Linked DNA regions of Homo sapiens: regions 2, 3, 4 and 5 are each linked to region 1. The links are contacts of gene promoters, found by promoter capture Hi-C in blood cells and fetal thymus (Javierre and others, 2016). All regions are on one chromosome and are shown on one strand. Each heading gives the region's core, a stretch centred on a gene start or on the middle of the fragment in contact. The rest is flanking DNA. Distances are from core to core; before and after follow the strand shown.

Region 1 (3,715 bases), core at 426-2,925:
CAGATTAAGGGGCAGTTTATGCAGACATTTCTAGGAAAAGGGTAGTAACTTTTGGGTCCTCGGGTCATTGCCATGGAAGGGGGGTGATAACTCCAGGGGCGTGCCCTGGTAAACTGACATGGCACACTGATATGATGGGCATATCTTATGCTCATCTTCCACCCAGTCCCTGTTTTAGCTAGTCCTCAATTTGGTCCTCAATCTGGTGTCCAAGCCCCACCTCTGGCGTTAAGTCCTGACTCCTACCTGTTTCACCATCACTGCAGTTTTAAGAGTAACGAATTTGGGTCCCCTGGTGAAGTGGCCAGAGGCAGAGCTTCTGTGTGAACTATTTGGAGGGGAGGGGAAAGAACTCTCCCAGACTGCAGGTTCTGAAAGGAATACAGAGATGTCAGAGACTGCAGTTGCAAGAGAAAGCTTTTATAGGAGGGTGTAGAATTAAAGGACAAGAGGACTCTACATGTGGATGGAGGAGGGCACCCTGTCCGGCAGTACTGCAAGAGCAAAAGTTTGGAGGTGGGAGTGAGGTGAGTGCGTCTGCCGGCCAGAATTCTTGGGCCAGGGTGAGCAGAAAGGTTGGAGGCCAAGGGAAGGTGGGTGGTGGTGAACCTTATCCTGAAGTGTGCAAGGTGACAGTCAGAAGCTTAGAACTCCAGCCACGGGCCCTGCATGTGGCCTCCTAGCTGTAGTCTGTCCACCGAGATCGTGAGGATGCTGGTGGTTGAAAGAACTGCACCTCTGAGCAGGTGAAGAGAGAAGCTAAGGAGGGGTGATGGCAGAGGCGATGGGACAGGCTTTCTAACGATGAGGGGCTGGGGATCAACGCTCTCACGGAAGCTAAAAGAGCCCCAGCAACCACCCGCCTGGGCCCTGAGCTCTCTCCAAAGCGGGAGGGGATTCACTAAGAGGTTGCTCCCCTGGCATTGAACTCAGCATCCTATACTGGTCCTCACCATGAAGACCCCCAAGAGTGCTTCAGACCATTGCTTCTCACATTCTCTGTATAAAGACACTAATTTGTTTTTAGATTTCCAAGCATGTCACGGACCAATATGTTTGTTAAATATACTAAGAATGAATTGCTAGAAAGATGAAATTAAAAAGACATACACCGCCAGGTGCAGTGGCTCACGCCCATAATCTCACCACTTTGGGAGGCGGAGGTAGGTGCATCGCTTGAGCCCAGGAGTTCAAGATCAGCCTAGGCAACAAAGTGAGACCCCCGTATCTACAAAACTTAAAAAATTAGCCAGGTGTGGTGGCGCAGTCTGTAGTCCCAGCTATTCTGGAGGCCGAAGTGGGAGGATCGCTTGAGGCTGCAGTGAGCCGAGATCGCACCACTGCACTCCAGCCTGGGTGATAGAGTGAGACTCTGTCTCCAAAAAAAAAAAGGACATACATCATGCAAGTTTGGATTTTTGTTTTTAGATTCAACTGACGAAGTTACGGGATCAAACTGCTGTAGGAGCTGCCAAACGCTTCTCTCCATTTCTGGCCGCGGGGCCGCGGACCGCCCTTTAAGTAGCCCGTTTTATCCCTGGCAGAGGTGGAGCCTTAGGCAGGCCTAGAGACTTTCCCGGGTCCTCCAGGCCGGGGAACGCCCCGCTCGGAGGCCGGGCTTGGGCGGAGACTGCGCCGGGGCTGCTGAAAACTAGCCGAGGAGAGCCAGGGAGCCGGAGAGATCGCGCGCCTGCCGCCGCCGGAGCCTGCGAGCCGAGACCGTAAGCGCCCGGGGCCGGCCGGGCCCGCACTCCCCGGACGCAGACGCGGTTCGGGCTCCGCGCGGGCTCGGCCGCCGGGGTGGGCGGCGGGCCGGGGCGCCGAGGGGTCGGGGCTGCGGTCGGCCCGCAGGGGTGCAGAGGGACTTGTAGTTGGTCCGCCCCCAGCTCCTGCCCCGGCCAGGAGACTGCGCGTGCCGCCTACTGGGGGAAGGAGCCTGCAGGCGACCGCGGACTTCTCGCAGGGAATTCCGCGTCCCAGACTGTGGGCGGACGCCGCAGGGAGGGAGGCTCGCGACCCCGAGAGCGCACCGCGTCCCCTGGCCTGGGCGAGCTCTGCTTCCAGGGCCGTGGCTCGCTCGGCGGTGAAATGCACTTAATTTGTCACCCAAGTCGGAACACTGATTTTCATGCGCGTCCGTGTGAAGAGACCACCAAACAGGCTTTGTGTGAGCAACATGGCTGTTTATTTCACCTGGGTGCAGGCGGGCTGAGTCCGAAAAGAGTCAGCCAAGGGAGATAGGGGTGGGGCCGTTTTATAGGATTTGGGTAGGTAAAGGAAAATTACAGTCAAAGGGGGGTTCTCTGGCGGGCAGAGTGGGGGGGGTCACAAGGTGCTCAGTAGGGGAGCTTTTGAGCCAGGATGAGCCAGGAGAAGGAATTTCACAAGACAATGTCATCAGTTAAGGCAGGAACAGGTCATTTTCACTTTTGTGGTGGAATGACATCAGTTAAGGCAGGAACCGGCCATCTGGATGTGTAGGTGCAGGCCACAGGGGATATGATGGCTTAGCTTCGGCTCAGAGGCCTGACACTGATCACACCTTTTAGTTGAAATGCGCTTTCATCTCCATCTGCTGCCGCAGCCGCCGCCCGGCACCCCCTCGCTCTGGTCTCGGGATTGAAGGCCAGCCCTCTCCTCTTGTAGAACAGGAAACTTGCCCGGGAGTTCACCTTGTAGTTGAAGCCAGGGAATGTGGTCAACCTGAGCAAAAGCGCCGCGGAGACCGAGTGGCCGCCTGCCTCCCTCCCTGGCAGATGTCGGTTTTCTCTGAGCTTCTGGCTCCTTCCTTGCCCTGGCGGCTCCCGAGATCTTGGAGGTGGGGTGCCTAGCAATGTTGTAATCCTAATTTTGACTTTTTTTTCTTAAAGTTGAATGCCCCCTCCATAGCCCACCTCCCATTGTTTAAACTTCAGGTTCCGCAAAGCCTGGATCCGCCCCTACAGGCAACACTCGTTGTCCTGGAAGTTCTGTGAGGGCTCAGCTTGTGGCTGGAGGTGGGAGGTGAGGGGGACCCATGCACTTGGCAGGCCCGCTTCCAGGACAGCCCTTTGCTGGGATTGATGAGCTGTTGGTGGAAAATTGTTGAGGACCTTGGGGTTGGTGGCTGTTTCGGTACCACTGTGCAGCCTCCTCTGCATCCAGCATAATTTAAAATAAACATTTTCAGGAAGCCACACTTCTCCAGAAAGTAACATTGTTTTCTGGTGTAACGGTTGCCTCCTTCAGGGAGCTAGGTTTGGGGGATAATAGGGGGCCTTTCACTGGCCCCACTTGGTCTGACTTAGCAGCAAAAACTCTGCGAGTGCTCTCCAAGCAGTTTTTCTTTCCCAAATTTCCACACCTAGGAGGCGCTGAGGAGGCATGGGCGGTACTTAGGAACTGCTCACTGTGGAACTGAGGCACAGCGGGGAGCATGCCCTCGTGGGATTTGCAGTTCTAGGGGCAGAGGGATAATAAACAAAATACATTTGTAAACTATAAAGTATGTTAGAAGATGATGTGTAATATGGAGATAAATAAAACTTTAAAGAGGGGAGAGGAGTGCCAGGTGGAAAGGGAAGGCCTCACTGAAGGGTGGCACTGGCATAGACCTGAAGAGTTAGGGAGCAGCCAAGCTGCTGCCTGGGGTGCAGGTGCAAAGGCTGGGGGCAGGAGTGTGCCCAGCTTGAATGGCCTGATGTTTGTGTTTGCAGAGTGTGGGTCAAGCTGATGA
Region 2 (3,715 bases), core at 577-3,076, 370 kb before region 1:
GGGAATCTGGGCTCTCAGCCAGGCCACCCCACAGAAGTGTTCAGGGGCAGGGAGTTGTATATCCTGGAATGACTATTTAGAAAGGATATAACAGAGGGGAGAGAAAAATAAGGAAATGTGAGGAGTTAGGTCAATGCTTGCCCCTTCCCACGGGCCCACCCATGGTAACGCTGTGGCTCGCTGCAGGCCAGCCAGTATCTGGGAATACAGAGACGCATGATAGTGTCTTTCTACTCTGATTACAACTCCACTAGGTGCCAGCATTTTGCATGCAATCGCTCTATTAATCCTTTCAATGTCCTTGTGAGATAGGTCCATTTATCCCCATTCCACAGGTGAAGAAACTGAAAGAATGGTTGAATGACCTGCTCCGGCTGACACACGGAGTGAGTGGCTGAGCTGGGAAGAGAGACCAGTGGCGTGTAACTCAGAGTCCACGGTGTGTGATGTATGAAGGACTAAGAGAGACCAGTCAGGAGCAGCCGGAATCCCATCTGGAGCCTAAAGAGTTGTCTTTGGTGTAGAAAGTGTCTACCCCACCCCTAATTATATATCCAGTGAAGGCTGTTGCTTAACGTGGCTGTTGGCTCATAAACTGTAAGCACTATGAGAGCAAGTCTTTTCATCTGTGACCTCGATGTCCCCCTTGGTGCCATGGGCTGTGCCCATGTGCGCTAAATACACATGATCAGCCTATTGCTGTTTGGCCAGCTGTCTTTTTTTTTTTTTTTTTTTTTTTTTTTTTTGAGATGGAGTTTCGCTCTTTTTGGCCAGGTTGGAGTGCCATGGTGCAATCTCAGCTTACTGCAACCTCCACCTCCTGGGTTCAAATGATTCTCCTGCCTCAGCCTCCCAAGTAGCTGGGATTACAGGCATGCACCACCATGCCAAGCTAATTCTGTATTTTTAGTAGAGATAGGGTTTCACCATGTTGGCCAGTCTGGTCTCGAACTCCTGACCTCAGGTGATCCGCCTACCTCTGCTCCCGAAGTGCTGGGATTACAGATGTGAGCCACCATGCCCAGCCACCCAGCTGTCCTTTTAGGACACTTTCTGTACTCTCTGTAATAACAGAAGTCCCACACCAGGGCTGACTTTATAGAACCCTAGTTCCAAACTCTCTTAGTTCTGTCAGGAAAGCATTTGCATTTTTTTTTCTCCCCCGAGACAGGGTCTTGCTCTGTCACCCATGCTGGAGTGCAGTGGTGTGATAGCTCACTGCAGCCTCAAACTCCCCCAGCTCAAGCAATCCTCCCACCTCAGCCTCCCAAGTAGCTGAGACTACAGGCATAAGCCACCACACCTAGCCAGAAAAACTCTTTCTTTCTTTCTTTCTTTTTTTTTGAGATGGAGTCTTGCTCTGTCACCCAGGCTGGAGTGCAGTGGCTCGATCTTGGCTCACTGCAATCTCTGCCTCTCAGGTTCAAGCAATTCTCCTGCCTCAGCCTCCCAAGTAGCTGGGATTACAGGCATGCGCCATCACGCCCAACTAATTTTTGTATTTTTAGTAGAGATGGGGTTTCACCATGTTGGCCAGGCTGGCCTCGAACTCCTGACCTCAGGTGATCTACCAGCCTTGGCCTCCCAAAGTGCTGGGATTACAGGCGTGAGCCACCGCACCCGTGCCAGAAAAGCTTTTTTCTTAATAGCTCCCCTGGGAACCTCAGTTCTACCACCGAAGGTATACAATCACTCCAACAGATAACAAATCGACATTGTCGTGCATAAATGTAGAGCTGATCCGTATTTCATGTCAAAGGCCTGGACTGTGTGAAATTGGCTGGTATTTGTTCCAGAAGCACTTGTTCATGTTGAAGATGGGGCAGTTCTGAGTGGGTTAGCAGGCTGACGAGCTTGGCTCAGAAGCCGCTCACTATTGTTTGGGCTTTGCTTTTGACTTCACATCCTGAAATAAATGGTCGTTGCAGACCAGGCACGTGAGCAGGAAGTGGGCAGGGCTTAAAACACAGAGAAGTCATAACCTCTGCGGTTTGGTTCATGTTGTAATATGAAAACCAGGAAGCTTATCTTGCAGGAGGCTGATGTGTAAAAGTTCAGAATGGAGTGGAGCCCTCCCTCTTGGCACCCTATGCGCGGAGTCACCCTTTGTCTGCCACAGGAAGCACCCAGGTCCTGGCAGCTAGAAAACTGTAACAACTTGGAAACATTTCCCAAAATGTCATCATGGCATCAAAATGAGACAATCAATTTCTTGCAAAATTGTTTGCAAGAATACAATTTGATCAAAAGTAGAGTTAGACTTTTTTTTTTTTAAGACAGTTTCGATCTTGTTACCTAGGCTAGAGTGCAATGGTGATCTCTGCTTACTGCAACCTCTGCCTGCCAGGTTCAAGCGATTCTCTGCCTCAGCCTCCTGAATAGCTGGGACTACAGGTGTGCGCCACCATGCCCAGCTAATTTTTGTATTTTTAGTAGAGACGGGGTTTCACCATGTTGGCCAGGCTGGTCTGAAACTCCTGACCTCAGATGACCTGCCTGCCTCGGCCTCCCAAAGTGCTGGATTGTAAGCGTGAGCCACTACGCCCAGCCGAGTTAGACTTTCTCTAAGAACAGCCCCTCTGTGTGTTTTAACTTAAGTGAGAAACAACATGGGTGAGTCAGTGGTTGAAGGCAAGAGAGACACGGGAGAGACACTGATGCCCTGTCCATCCCTTCTCTGGGCCTCAGGGCATTCCAGCAGGTAGAGAACTCCACCCTCCTGCCTGCCTATCAGTCTGCTTGGTCTTGAAAGTCTGCTGCACAGAGTGGGTAGTGGCCATCTGAATCAGTGCTAACACAAAAGCTAGACAGCAATGCTTACAGGCTAGCCAGGAAAATGTTTTTACCAGAAAATTGCTTGAGAAGAGAACACAGAGTTTCAGTAGGGACATGACGATTGAGGATGGAAATGCTTGGTGAAGCAGAACATCCTGGCGTAGCCACAAGAAAACACAATAACCTTAAGGCAGTCACTCGAAGGCATCCTGGAGCCCCAGGCAGGGAGCATTTCACTTCACCAAGGCGTCTGGGGCCATCAAGTGGGAGAAAAAACTGAAGCCTAAAGCTCCTGCTACTGCTCTCTGAGCTCCCAGATCCCTGTACCTGACACCTGCCACACCTGGCTCGGCAGGTAACTAAGACTGGAAGAACCAGATGAGGAGTGGCTCTGCCACACTTATTTGAGAAAATGTCTGAGTAGTATCTGTCCAGCTAGGTCTTCCTGAGTTTCCCATGGCTCTTAAAGATTAGACATCATTAACTGAGTTTCCCAGCAGCACACCTGCCTGAGGTAGATTACAGTGTGGACTATTCCCTGTGAGAAGCTTCCTGCAGCATAGCGCCAGGGAAGGGCTAACCAAGATCGTGTCTTTGCAAAACACCTTTCAGACTGCAGCACCCCCAGGGTGAACTTCAGAGTCACTTTGATCTCAATTAGCATTCTTGGATATTATAAACAAACACCTAGACTCCCAGGGAGGGGAAAATCAGTACCCCAGGAAAATCACAGGAGATGGAGTTCTCAGGGCTTTATCACAGGCTGGCCATCGAAAGCCACAGGGAGCCCTCAGGCTAGCCAGGGTCACATCTCACCTCTGCCCAGCCACCCCAGGTGTTTCCTAGAAGCCCCCCCTTTTCCCGCTTTGGCCTGCCTGGCTCTTTTTGGCTTCTGAAAACAAAGAGAGGAGCTGTGTGCAGTCAGCCTGAGACACGTGGG
Region 3 (3,715 bases), core at 406-2,905, 320 kb before region 1:
GACGCCTTGAACTTCACCCACATAACCCCTCCATACTAGTGTCTGCAGCTGTCAGTGTGGTGACAGAGGCTATCTCGCACTCTATGATACTGTCACTGTCAGCTGGGCCACCTGGGTGGGGAGCCTCAGCCAGATACCCCCAGCATATTGAAACCATAGAAGCTGGAGCTGGAATGACCTTTGAAGACCTAAACACCTCACTTTACAGCTGAGAGGAGAGAAGGCTAAAATACAACTCCCGGACTCAGTGCCCAGGTGCCACGGTGTCCTTGCCCACACTGCCCAGGGCTAGGGTAGCAATCTCATGACAATAAGCTCCAAAAGTTACTGGGAACTGAGGGGCTTCACAAATCTTTTCAGCATATAGTCTCTTAGGGTCTGGCCTCTTTGCCATAACACAATGGGATTCAGCCTAGAATGAAAACATCCAAGAATACAGAAGGCTGGGTCAGCTCATGACTGCAGTGGCAAAATGCATTCCCCTACAGCCCCTTTCCGCTGTACACCAAGGGCTTCTCAGTTGAAAAGGAGAGGAGAGGTAACAGACATTCAGTCTATTTAGAAATGAGGCTGGCAAAAAAGGAGGTGACAAGTTACTCTGGTTCAGTTGATGAACCTTCTTTTCACCTGAGCCTTCTTTTCACCTCCCTGACATCAGAGAATGAAAACAAAGACATCATACAGAAAAGTGTGGCCATTAAAAGGATCACACCCTTTACACTAATGTGCCAGCAAGCTCCTCACAAACCACAGACTCCCAGATATTCTTAGCTGAAAGGCACCTGCCTCTAGGGACCTCCAGTGAGGGGCAGGATGGTCACAAAGTGAGAACACCAAGTCCTTTTTTTTTTTTTTTTTTTTTTTTGTAGAGACGGGATTTCGTCATGTCACCCAGGCTGGTCTTGAACTCCTGGACTCAAGCAATCCGCCCACCCCTCCCAAAATGCTGGGATTACAGACATGAGCCACCATGCCCGGCCTGAGAACACTAAGTCTTATGTCTGTCTTCAGCTCTTCAAAGCCCCAAAGCACTTGCACCATTGTGTAGTTTTGCAGTGGTCCCAGTACTGGTTCCTGCAGTAAGTACGCTTAATACTAAAATGCACAGGGCATTTGGTCCTGGAGGAAAATAGCACGTACATGCAGCTCGTTCATTTACCAACAGGCTGTTCACTGGCTTTGGACGCCTCCAATGAAGAGGTCACCAAGCTTTCCGTCATAGAGGAGCAGCAGCATTCAGGGAAAGGATGGCGGATCGCAAAACACTCCCCTTGGTGACAGGCTGAAATGCAGAAGGACCAGTATAGAACGCTCCTCAAGCTTTTAGAACTGAGCGTATTTTAAGGTCAGAATCACAACCAAGACAAAAGAATGCAACTCTTTTCATGTCGTATACCTTTGGTAAATTAAGAGCAACTGGTAAAATAAATACAAATCTCATTTGAATTAAGTATTTCATGTTTTTATTTCAAAAGAAAAAAGGATACCAAGAAGCAGAAGAATGAAGCAGTTAAAACCAGCAAAGCTGCAAAGTAGGAAAGAAAGCTGAGGGAGAGATTGATCCGATTTCAACGATGTGGCCACTTAATGCAAACACAGGGGTCTGATGCTGCAAACCTAAGTCACATGAGTCCAGTGACTTCAGCAGGTCCACTGATCCACCACAGTGACAGGGCCAGGCCCCTTCCTGCTGAATCCTAACTTTACACATTCTAGACACATGTCATGCACATACAGGTTACACTTTATGGTTACATGAAATTGCATGCAATTCACACAGAGAATCATTTTGAAGGCACTGTATTTTGCAGCAGGAGCTGCTACTTTCTGGCAAGTCCTTCCTAGGTTGGCTCACAAGTGGTCCTCCTTTTTATTTATTCCTATATGAAACTTTGGTCCAAAAATCAGGTGCAGTCTGATCCTACCCTCCCAGCTGTTTTAGTTTCATGTCTCACCTTCTCTTCCACGTTCCCTTCTTAAACGTAGATGTCAAGCTTAGAAGATGTTTCCTGACAATGAGATCCTGTTTAATTCAGATTTTCAAACAACTTGAGTCAAGCAAGCAGGAGCTTATAGTATGTTGATTTAAAACAAGTTGTTACCAGTTTCCCTTACCCTTGAATTCGGCAAGGCCCATTAATTCACAAATTCCATGATAAGATACATGAGGTTCTGTATGCATAGTAAATGATTTCTAGTTACAATTAAAATACAGCCTTGTATATGTTTAAGTCAACCTTAACTTTTAAAACATGACTTCAGTATACGCAACCTTAGGCTCACTTCCAGATTATAAAGTCCCATTCATGGGGTGCAAATGTTTACATTGTTAGCAAAGAAAATAGCTCTGCATAATCTTTTGACATACATGCACACTTCTAGTTCTAAAATTCAGAGCAAAGCAAGATGACAAGAGATTCCAATTCCAGCATATATTATGAAAGGTTATGGACTGTGACTATCCATCCTTTTGGACCATAAGAAATTCACTTTTAAATTTTTTCTACTGTGCTGTTCTACTATATACTTTTGGTCTATCAACTTGGTAGGCCTGAAAAAAAAAAGTATTTAACCTTCTAAATCTCATAATAGAAATTATGTACGTTGTTCTTTAACCAGAAAGGTTCACTGCTGACTCCCCCACCTCTCAAAAAACAAACAAACAAACAAACACCACCAAAGCTTTCCGCCATTCATGCACATGCTTATTCTGACCCCAACCCCATCCCTACAAAGGGGCAGCAGACAGCACAATAGTCAAGGACAAGGTTTTTATTTATTTATTTATTTATTATTTATTTATTTATTTTTTAAGGAGACAGGCCTCGCTATGTTGCCCAGGCTGGCCTCCAACTTTGGGCTCAAGTGATCCTTCTGCCTCAGCCCCCCGAGTCGCTGTGCCTAGGAGCACGCACCACCACACCTGGCTTAAGTAGAAGGTTCTGAAATCTGCCAGAGGCTGAGCAACAGAAAGCTTCCAATGAGAACTCAGAAGGCATTCACTCTGCCTGAAGTTGTGCTCTGCTCACAGCACGAGTGTGGCTGTCCCTCTCTCGCTCCCACCAGCTACATAATAGGGACTTTCAGGATGCTCCTATAAATACAGACTCCAGAGAGGTTTCCTCAAAAATTAAAAAAAAAATTCTATGCAAATATGTAAGTACTGTCATTGAGGATTACAGAAATACTTTGCATCAACTACAGATGTCTCAAAATAGAATTCTTTCTAGCTCATTCAGTTTTGTTAGAAACACTTCATGTTCTCCAAAAAAGAAAAGCACCTAACGAAAAGCATGTCCTATTCATGCTAGCAAGAAATGAATCCCAAAGGACACGCACCAAGAACCAAAGTAAAAGAATGTCAGCAAAACAGGACCCATCTTTTATCATCCCAAACTGCTATTTCCATCTCTGACTTTCTGCCAAATTATCTTTATCTTCCTAAGACGAAGCAAAGACTCAGAGCCCTCAAATGGCACGGAAGCGGCACCTGGTCTGCCAAGACATTGCTGTTAAACAGAGTCTTTTGGATTAAAACCAGGGAACTCGGAAGGAATGACTACATGGATATAGATGGATAAGATGGAAGATATAAAATAAGAAGGGCAGGAGGGTAAGATTATTCCTTTTTTCCTTTCAAGGCTGACAGTGATAGAATAAACAGCAGCACAGCAGGTTCAGATGATATGAAAACCACTGAATTCTGCCCAGGAAT
Region 4 (3,715 bases), core at 909-3,408, 300 kb before region 1:
ATGTGAATATGTAATGAGTTCGTATTCTCATCTTGGATACAGTACTCATCAAGTACTTCTAGTGAAATATACTTTTGTTAATATTCTAGGTGATTTATCAGATGCTCAAGAATTCTCAATGTCAGAAATTTCACTGAATTCAAGAACACTTCCCCAAAATTTTAAGGAGACTTTTTAAGTTTACAAATCAGAAACTTTATTCCCTTAATTATCAATATCACCCAAATGAATGGCTAGGACATCCTTCTCAATTTGAGAATGTTCTGAAGCAGACTGTAGTACTAACTAACATGCTCACTTTATTTTTACCTCTAGAAAAACAATTATGAAAAATACTCTTGTCATCTAATAGTACATTAATATTTTCCTTGTTTTAGTAAGTAACCTCAAGAAAGTAACAGCAGCTTCCAGGAGGAAAAAAGTGAATGCTTTCAGGTGGGAACAAAGAACTCTGGCATTTTAGTGTCCAGTCACTTGGTCCAAATATGGGGAAAGGGGGAATTTTTAACTGGGGAGTATTAATATTTAGAGAAAGTTTATAAAGGTTAAAATATTTATCTTGAACTTACCAGGTGTACTTGTTGAAGAGGCCTTAGAAGTTACAGGCTCTGAATCTTCCTAAATATACAGATATATATTAATATCACATCTACCAGTCCCCTGTTGCTATATACATTTAGTGTTTTACACGAACACTTCTAATATTCTTTCTGCCACTCCCCACTTTCTCTTTCATCGGTCTTCTCTCCCTTTCATTTCAGCTTAGACTTTCTTCTCCTGTCTTCAACCATCTTCCCTTCAACCCTCCCCACAGCTCCTTTCCTCATGTGTTCTCCTTGAGAACTTTCACTAGCCAATGCTACAAAGCCAGACACGAGAGACAGATTTGAGGAATGGCATCTAAGGTGGCCAGATGGAGCAGGGGGAACATATTATTTGTTGCACACCAATATACAGCACAGACAAAGCAGAGTTTGCCCAGCTGAATCAGGGAGGAGGGCATGAAGGTTACACTCTGAAGGGGCACAGCCAATAACCATCAAGCTCCTAAGGGAAACATATGAATTTAGGCGAATTCCTTCCTTTTAAATTAATGCAAGGGAACTGAGATTCTAAGAGATGAAAAAAGTAGTGAAATGTCATTCACTCATTTAAGGAACAGAATTAAACTCCACAGGTTTGAACTTCAATGCTTTTCCCATAATTTCACATATTCAACTCACTTTACTAAGACTGCCATTAAAAATTTATAAATAACAGTCAAAACAAGCCACTTCACATGCATAGTTAAAAATTAGCAAATATAAGTTCAAACTAATTAAGCCCAAATTAAATAAATGCTGACACTATTTCCTGAATGAGCTGTGCCTGAATTCCATATTTTAAGGTATGGTAGACTATCTTTATTAACTTACACCTTTGTCCTCTTTTTGTTCTGTTTCTATTGTTGATCCCTTTTCAGCAATTCTTCTCCTACAAAGAAGGCAAATCCGATTTTTAAAAATATTATCTGATTCAGTATAAAAACCACTTCTCTACGAGGAAAGAAGTGCATCTAGTTAGTTGTATTTGGAATACAATTAAAATCCTCTCAATTCTGGGCATGTCCATTATAATGAAATTCCTTACCTCCTGGCCAGCAGGGCACTCATTTCTTCCATTAAACCACTACCCCCTAAAGGAAGGGGTCCATTTCCACGGCCTGTATCTGTTTTAGATGAGGCGGAGTTCACACCAATAGCATTCCCTCCACTTGGGAAAGAGGTATCCTCCATCTTAATGAGAATATACAGACATAATCAACTCCTATGTTAGACAACCATATTTTTATTAATATATTACATCTAAAACAGAAGGAAACATCAGCATTAATTTTAAAAAACCTAAATATTATTTTTTAAGCTTTAAGAACCAATAGATTCTTAGCATGACTTTATATATCAACAAGAGTTTATCAAAACTACTATCACCAAGAATGCAATGAAACAGTATCATGTATCTCTTCCTGTGCTGCCATGAAAAGGGCATGACTTTGCTCTGATAATATTCCTGCTAAAACAACCCCTGCATAACTAGAATCTAATCTTGAGGAAAAATCAGATAAGCCAAAGTGAAGGATAACAGGCAAAATAATTGTCCTACAGTCTTCAAAAATGCCAGTATTATGAAAGATTGAGGAACTGTCATAAAGTATATCAAAGAGACATTATAACTAAATGCAATAAATGATCTTGCACTAGGAAAAAAACTGTCACTAAAGATGTCATTGGACTATAGATGAAATTTGAATAATACATTTGTAGATTACAGTATTCTATCATGTTAACTTTCCTGATTTTGATAATTATATTACTGGTTATGCAGGTAAATGTCCTTGTTCTTATAAAATTCACACTGAGGTACTTAGGAAAATAGAAGCTTGTGTCTCTGAGTTACTCTCAAATCATTCAAACAAAAGTGCATGTGTAGGCCGGGTGCGATGGCTCACACCTGTAATCCCGGCACTGTGGGAGGCTGAGGCGGGTGGATCACCTGAGGTCAGGATTTCAAGACCAGTCTGGTCAACATCGCGAAACCCTATCTCTACTAAAAATACAAAAATTAGCTAAGCATGGTGGTGGGTGCCTGTAATCCCAGCTACTCAGGAGGCTGAGGCAAAATCGCTTGAACCTGGGAGGTGGAGGTTGCAGTGAGCTGAGATCGCGCCATGGCACTCCAGTCTGGATAACAAGAGTGAAACTCCGTCTCAAGAGAAAAAACAAAAAAAGTGCATGTGTAAAGAAGGAAACATATCCAAAGAAGGAATAAAAAAGCAAATACTGGTAAAATGTTAATGGGTGAATGTAGGTGATGAATTTATAGAAATTATTTATACTATTCTTACAACTTCACTATAAAAATTTAAATTATGTCAATTTTTAATTTTTATTTATTTTATTTTTTGAGACAAAGTCTTACTCTGTCACCCAGGCTAGAGCGCAGTGGCATGATCTCGGCTCACTGCAACCTCCACCTCCCGGGTTCAAGCGATTCTTCTGCCTCAGCCTCCCGAGCAGCTGGGATTATAGGCATGTGTCACACATCTGGCTAAGTTTTGTATTTTTAGTGAGATAGGGTTTTAACATGTTGGCCAGCCTGGTCTCGAACTCCTGACCTCAGGTGATCCGCCCACCCCAGCCTCCCAAAGTGCAGGGATTATACAGGTATGAGCCATTGCGCCAGGGTAAATTATTTCAATTTTTTAAATCAATGAAGTTCATAACATTTCATAAAATTAGAATACAATAAATTCAACATTTTAGATATTTAGGAAGAATAAGACATATTAAAAAAATTTTTCAGAAAGGTATTTACCCGTGACACTTTCCTAAGTTTTGCTCCGGCAATTGCAGCTGCAAGTCCAGTTAAAGGGCGATTGTCTTCTGACATGGATGCCAAAAAGAATCCAGATGCAGGGAGGGGTGGGGCAGGAGGTGGTGGAGGAGGAGGGGGTACTTGATTAGGGAGAGGAGGGGGAGGAGGGGGCGGTGGAGGCCCGGTGGATGGGAGTGGAGGAGGTGGAGGGGGCCCTGGGGGAGGAGGGAGGGCTACTGAAGCCTGTGCAGGCCCTGGTGGGAGTGGTGGAGGAGGTGGAGGTGCAAGTGGTCCCAAGACAATGCCTGAGAGAGAGAAATGTTAAGTAAGACCATCAACAATAGAGCTGAGTGATATTATT
Region 5 (3,715 bases), core at 634-3,133, 260 kb before region 1:
TCAAATTTTTGCTTTCCTAATTTCTCACTCTAAACTGACTTCCCTCAAAGGCGTTTTTAAAAATGCTTTGAAGATCTTGAACTGAAGGCCAGACAAACGCAGTAAAAATAAATGGCCTGAAGGCTCGAAAACCCAATCCCCTTTGTGCCTCCCTTTCTAGGTATGGACAGCCTGGGGAAATCCCAGCTCTCCATGTCAACCTTTCTAATTGGAAATTGGGAGTGACAACAGACATATTAACCTCACATTACTGTGATTCACAAAAGGGAGGACTGTGAGAGGTAAGTATGAGAAGAAAGTAGAGCAGGCAGACCTACGAAAAGACTGTCCCCACCTACCCAATCCCCAAACCTGTTACTCACTTAATACTTAGTGAACAGATTTTTTTTTTTTTTTTTTGAGGCAGAGTTTTTACTCTTGTCACCCAGGCTGGAGTGCAGTGGCACGATCTCAGCTCACTGCAACCTCCGCCTCCCGGGTTCAAGCAATTCTCCTGCATCGGCCTCCCGAGTAATTGGGACTACAGGTGCCCGCCACCACGCCCAGCTAATTTTTGCGTTTTTAGTAGAGATGAGGTTTCACCATATCAGCCAGGCTGGTCTCGAACTCCTGGTCTCAAGTGATGCACCCGCCTCGGCCTCCCTAAGTGCTGGGATTACAGGTGTATGCCACCGCACCTGGCCAAACAGATAGGTTTTATAGGGTTCAAAATGTTAATTCTCCAATAAGATTAGTTGTTTCGGAAAGCTAAACTAAAAAACTTTGTCCAGGGTTATCTTTGGGATTCTTTTCAGGTCCAAATTTTTAAGATTTCATGAAAGCATTAATAAAGAACCGCAAATGGAGTATATCCAGAACCAAATGTGTTATCTGCAGCACAGTATTTCCTCTTCCATCCTCTTTCACTCTGTCTCTGGTTAACAGGACCATCTTTACCGGGGGCCCAAACTGACACACCTGGTCATCATTTTAAAACACTGTTCTCTCCTTCCCGGCCTGCCCATTACATCTTACTGACAAAGAGAAAAGAGGTTGAGTTCTAAGACCTCGGTACAAAAGCCACTAATGCCACTGTCTAGCTGTGGGTCCTCGCATCACTACAGTAGTGACCTTCTGTAAGTGCCAATCTCATTTCTAAAACAAGGATAATACCACCAACCTTGTAGGGTTGTTATAAAGATGATTGGTTATGTATACGCCAGATTAAGACCAAGCACACAGAAGGTGACCAATAAATAGATCATTATTCCTGCCTCAGAATGGCTTTAATTTCTATGTGAGGACAAAGGTAGAAAGCTAGAACACTGCCGTGGCAGGTATAGCCAGCACTAAATGAAAGCTGGTCACCTCCTCTTCATTCTGCTCCTCTCCTCTCTCTACTTTGTCAGTTCAGGCCTCATCTTTCTCACCGGTATTATTACAACAGTGTCCTGAATTGATCTTCATGCTTGTAAACTTGCATGCTCACCACACTTGTCCTAAAGCACAAACTTGATCATATCAATCCTTTATTTAGCATCCTTCAATGACTCTTCACCACCTCCATGATAACATGCACACTCGTCAGCACTAGGCCCTTCCCAACCTTATCTCTTGGGATGCCCTGCTCCTGACCCCCACCACATAAATTCTCATGTCCAAGCCACATCATGGCATATTTGTTATTTCCCAATTGCTCCATGCTCTCATGCTTCCAAACCTATCTAGAATGTTCTATCACTGATGAGCCCTCCCCATTCTTCAAACATAGCTGAAACATCACCTTCTCTTCAAAGCTTTCCCTGACCCTAGAATTTTCTTTGGTATTCCGAAGGCCTTTCTTCACACTACATTCGCAAGCTGTATCCTAATTTTGCTGGCCTTGTTTCTGGCAGCTGTAGCCCGACTGTGACATCAGGCAAGGGACAGGCTTTATTTATCATTTTTGTATTATTCCCAGTGCCTAACACAGTTTATAAAAAATACGCTTTACTGAAAATATTTTTGTGATATAAGCTTAATATTGTTTGCATTAATATCAACAATCTGGAAGACTAAAAAACAAAACTGTCACTATAAAGTATTTCTAGAAACTACTGAGATTTTTTTAATCCTATTAATTCCAAACATAAAGAGATTTTTAAATGCTGTGATAAAACTCATACAAATGTACATACTGGAAGGTATGTCAGGCCAAATTATCATTAAAAAATGAAATCTCAATATTATAAAACCTCTAGAAAATTTCAACCATAAGGAAGGTATGACTTTTGACCATGTTCTCATGTTCAATAGATTAAAAAATAAAACCCAGCAAAAGTAGTCTTTTAGATAATGGTAAAATACTTATTTTGGGGTGTTCTTTTTGAAAAGGCATGCTTCATCTTGGCTGAGAACAAAAGCAGTGGGATAATCTTACTGGTTATGCATATAATTTTCTTTTTTTTGGATTTAAAAATTATTTCCTATTTTCAAATGATTTAAACCTTTTAAGAAAATAAAAGTTGGGCAAATTTGCCTCCACCAATTATCACAAAAATTAACTTTGTAGTTTATATAATCCATAACTATTACCTATAAAAATCTATAAATGTACTGGATAAATAATAGAGAAATCAAAAATATCACTTTAGGTAATACACCCATTTAAAATTGAATCCATTTCCATGGAGAAAGGAAAAAATACACTGTAGCATTTGGTATAAAAGGAAGAGCACTAATTCAGCTCTTTTTCAAAAATGTTAGAACATGTGATTTGTGTTTTTTTAACTTCCAAATATAACTCACTGTATTTAGCACCTTCTGTACTTTCCAGTATATTAGATAATTGCATACCAAGTTAAAAACAAAATAAAGGAAAACATTTCTGCCACCCACCATTTTCATTAAAAAAAGGAAATATCACACAAACACACAGAGCACCTTGTAAAGGTTGGTATGACTAGCCCCCCAGAAAGCTGTTTTTTATAAATTTAAAAAATTTGAGGACGTAGGGGACACGGAAGAAGAGGAAAGGAAAATTATGTGATTATTGGTTTTAGCACAAAACGTGAGCTAGTAATTTTCAAATTCAGTTCTAGAGAACCATGGAGGCATCTCAGTGGTTGCGGATCCGGAACCCTATATCAATCAGAGAAGCTCCATATTTTCTGTCCATTTATACACTGAACTACCAAAGATCTCATTTGCACAAAAATGTCCATAACTTTTTAAAGTCTGAAAATCACTGAGAAGGATTAGCCGATGACAACAGTGGATAATATTGATATTAGCACCTAATAAATAAAAATACAAACAGAAATGTTTAATATGGAAAAATGTTTTAACAAGTGGTAAAACATTAAGAAACAGGCAAGACTAATATTTGTAGTTGCTTTATCAATAAGTTTGTTCTGCTTCTCATCAGTTTTATCAGGCTACAGTTTGTAAAGGGAAGGGAGATGTAAGTTAAGCTTTTTCAACTTGGTTTTGGAAGAAAGACAGTAGATGATTTCAGCAGCCAATTGGCTGTGAATCCAAAGCAAAGATTTTTGGCAGGGTATGATCAAACTGAGAGGTGACATTATTGGGTATGTTTGTTTAGATAAAGGGGAGGTGGCCCATATAATGTTGGGGTAGGGTACATACCTTTTCTACACTGGAGAATCTGCGTAAGAAATTATATCTATTCCCAAGAACACTCCTGATTCTTTTTTTTTTTTTTTTTTTTGAGACAGAGTCTTGCTCAGTCGCCCAG

Evidence for each region. The method cuts DNA at HindIII sites, captures the fragments that hold promoters and counts their contacts. A CHiCAGO score of 5 or more calls a contact.
Region 2: a fragment that was not itself captured here is called in contact with the fragment with the promoter of EPHX1 in region 1 in 1 of 17 cell types (M0 macrophages); the score reaches 5.5 in M0 macrophages.
Region 3: a contact is called between a fragment that was not itself captured here and the fragment with the promoter of EPHX1 in region 1, in 2 of 17 cell types (endothelial precursors and activated CD4 T cells). The highest score is 8.7, in endothelial precursors.
Region 4: a contact is called between a fragment that was not itself captured here and the fragment with the promoter of EPHX1 in region 1, in 1 of 17 cell types (endothelial precursors). The highest score is 6.7, in endothelial precursors.
Region 5: a fragment that was not itself captured here is called in contact with the fragment with the promoter of EPHX1 in region 1 in 1 of 17 cell types (total B cells); the score reaches 5.1 in total B cells.

What each region holds. Positions count from the first base shown.
Region 1 is chr1:225,808,449-225,812,163 of GRCh38, forward strand. It overlaps EPHX1 (epoxide hydrolase 1), which reads left to right and starts at 1,676. Exons shown (of 9, transcript NM_001136018.4): 1 at 1,676-1,721. RefSeq lists a silencer at 1,634-1,853. The HindIII fragment of the contact is 4,776 bases long and covers 642-3,715 here.
Region 2 is chr1:225,443,095-225,446,809 of GRCh38, forward strand. No RefSeq gene overlaps it. Among named protein-coding and RNA genes, the nearest start is that of LBR, 17 kb to the left of the region's middle. RefSeq lists enhancers at 1,542-1,611, 2,112-2,161, 3,057-3,617, 3,618-3,715 and a cis regulatory region at 1,716-2,255. The HindIII fragment of the contact is 389 bases long and covers 1,633-2,021 here.
Region 3 is chr1:225,485,389-225,489,103 of GRCh38, forward strand. It overlaps ENAH (ENAH actin regulator), which reads right to left. Exons shown (of 14, transcript NM_018212.6): 14 at 1,441-3,715. LOC124904526 (a long non-coding RNA gene) reads left to right here. Exons shown (of 2, transcript XR_007066903.1): 2 at 1,166-1,446. Among named protein-coding and RNA genes, the nearest start is that of LINC02765, 19 kb to the left of the region's middle. The HindIII fragment of the contact is 674 bases long and covers 1,319-1,992 here.
Region 4 is chr1:225,511,242-225,514,956 of GRCh38, forward strand. It overlaps ENAH (ENAH actin regulator), which reads right to left. Exons shown (of 14, transcript NM_018212.6): 7 at 3,355-3,659; 8 at 1,630-1,775; 9 at 1,416-1,473; 10 at 570-618. Among named protein-coding and RNA genes, the nearest start is that of LINC02765, 45 kb to the left of the region's middle. The HindIII fragment of the contact is 516 bases long and covers 1,901-2,416 here.
Region 5 is chr1:225,548,467-225,552,181 of GRCh38, forward strand. All of the region lies in intron 3 of ENAH (ENAH actin regulator), which reads right to left. Among named protein-coding and RNA genes, the nearest start is that of LINC02765, 83 kb to the left of the region's middle. RefSeq lists an enhancer at 527-1,026. The HindIII fragment of the contact is 220 bases long and covers 1,774-1,993 here.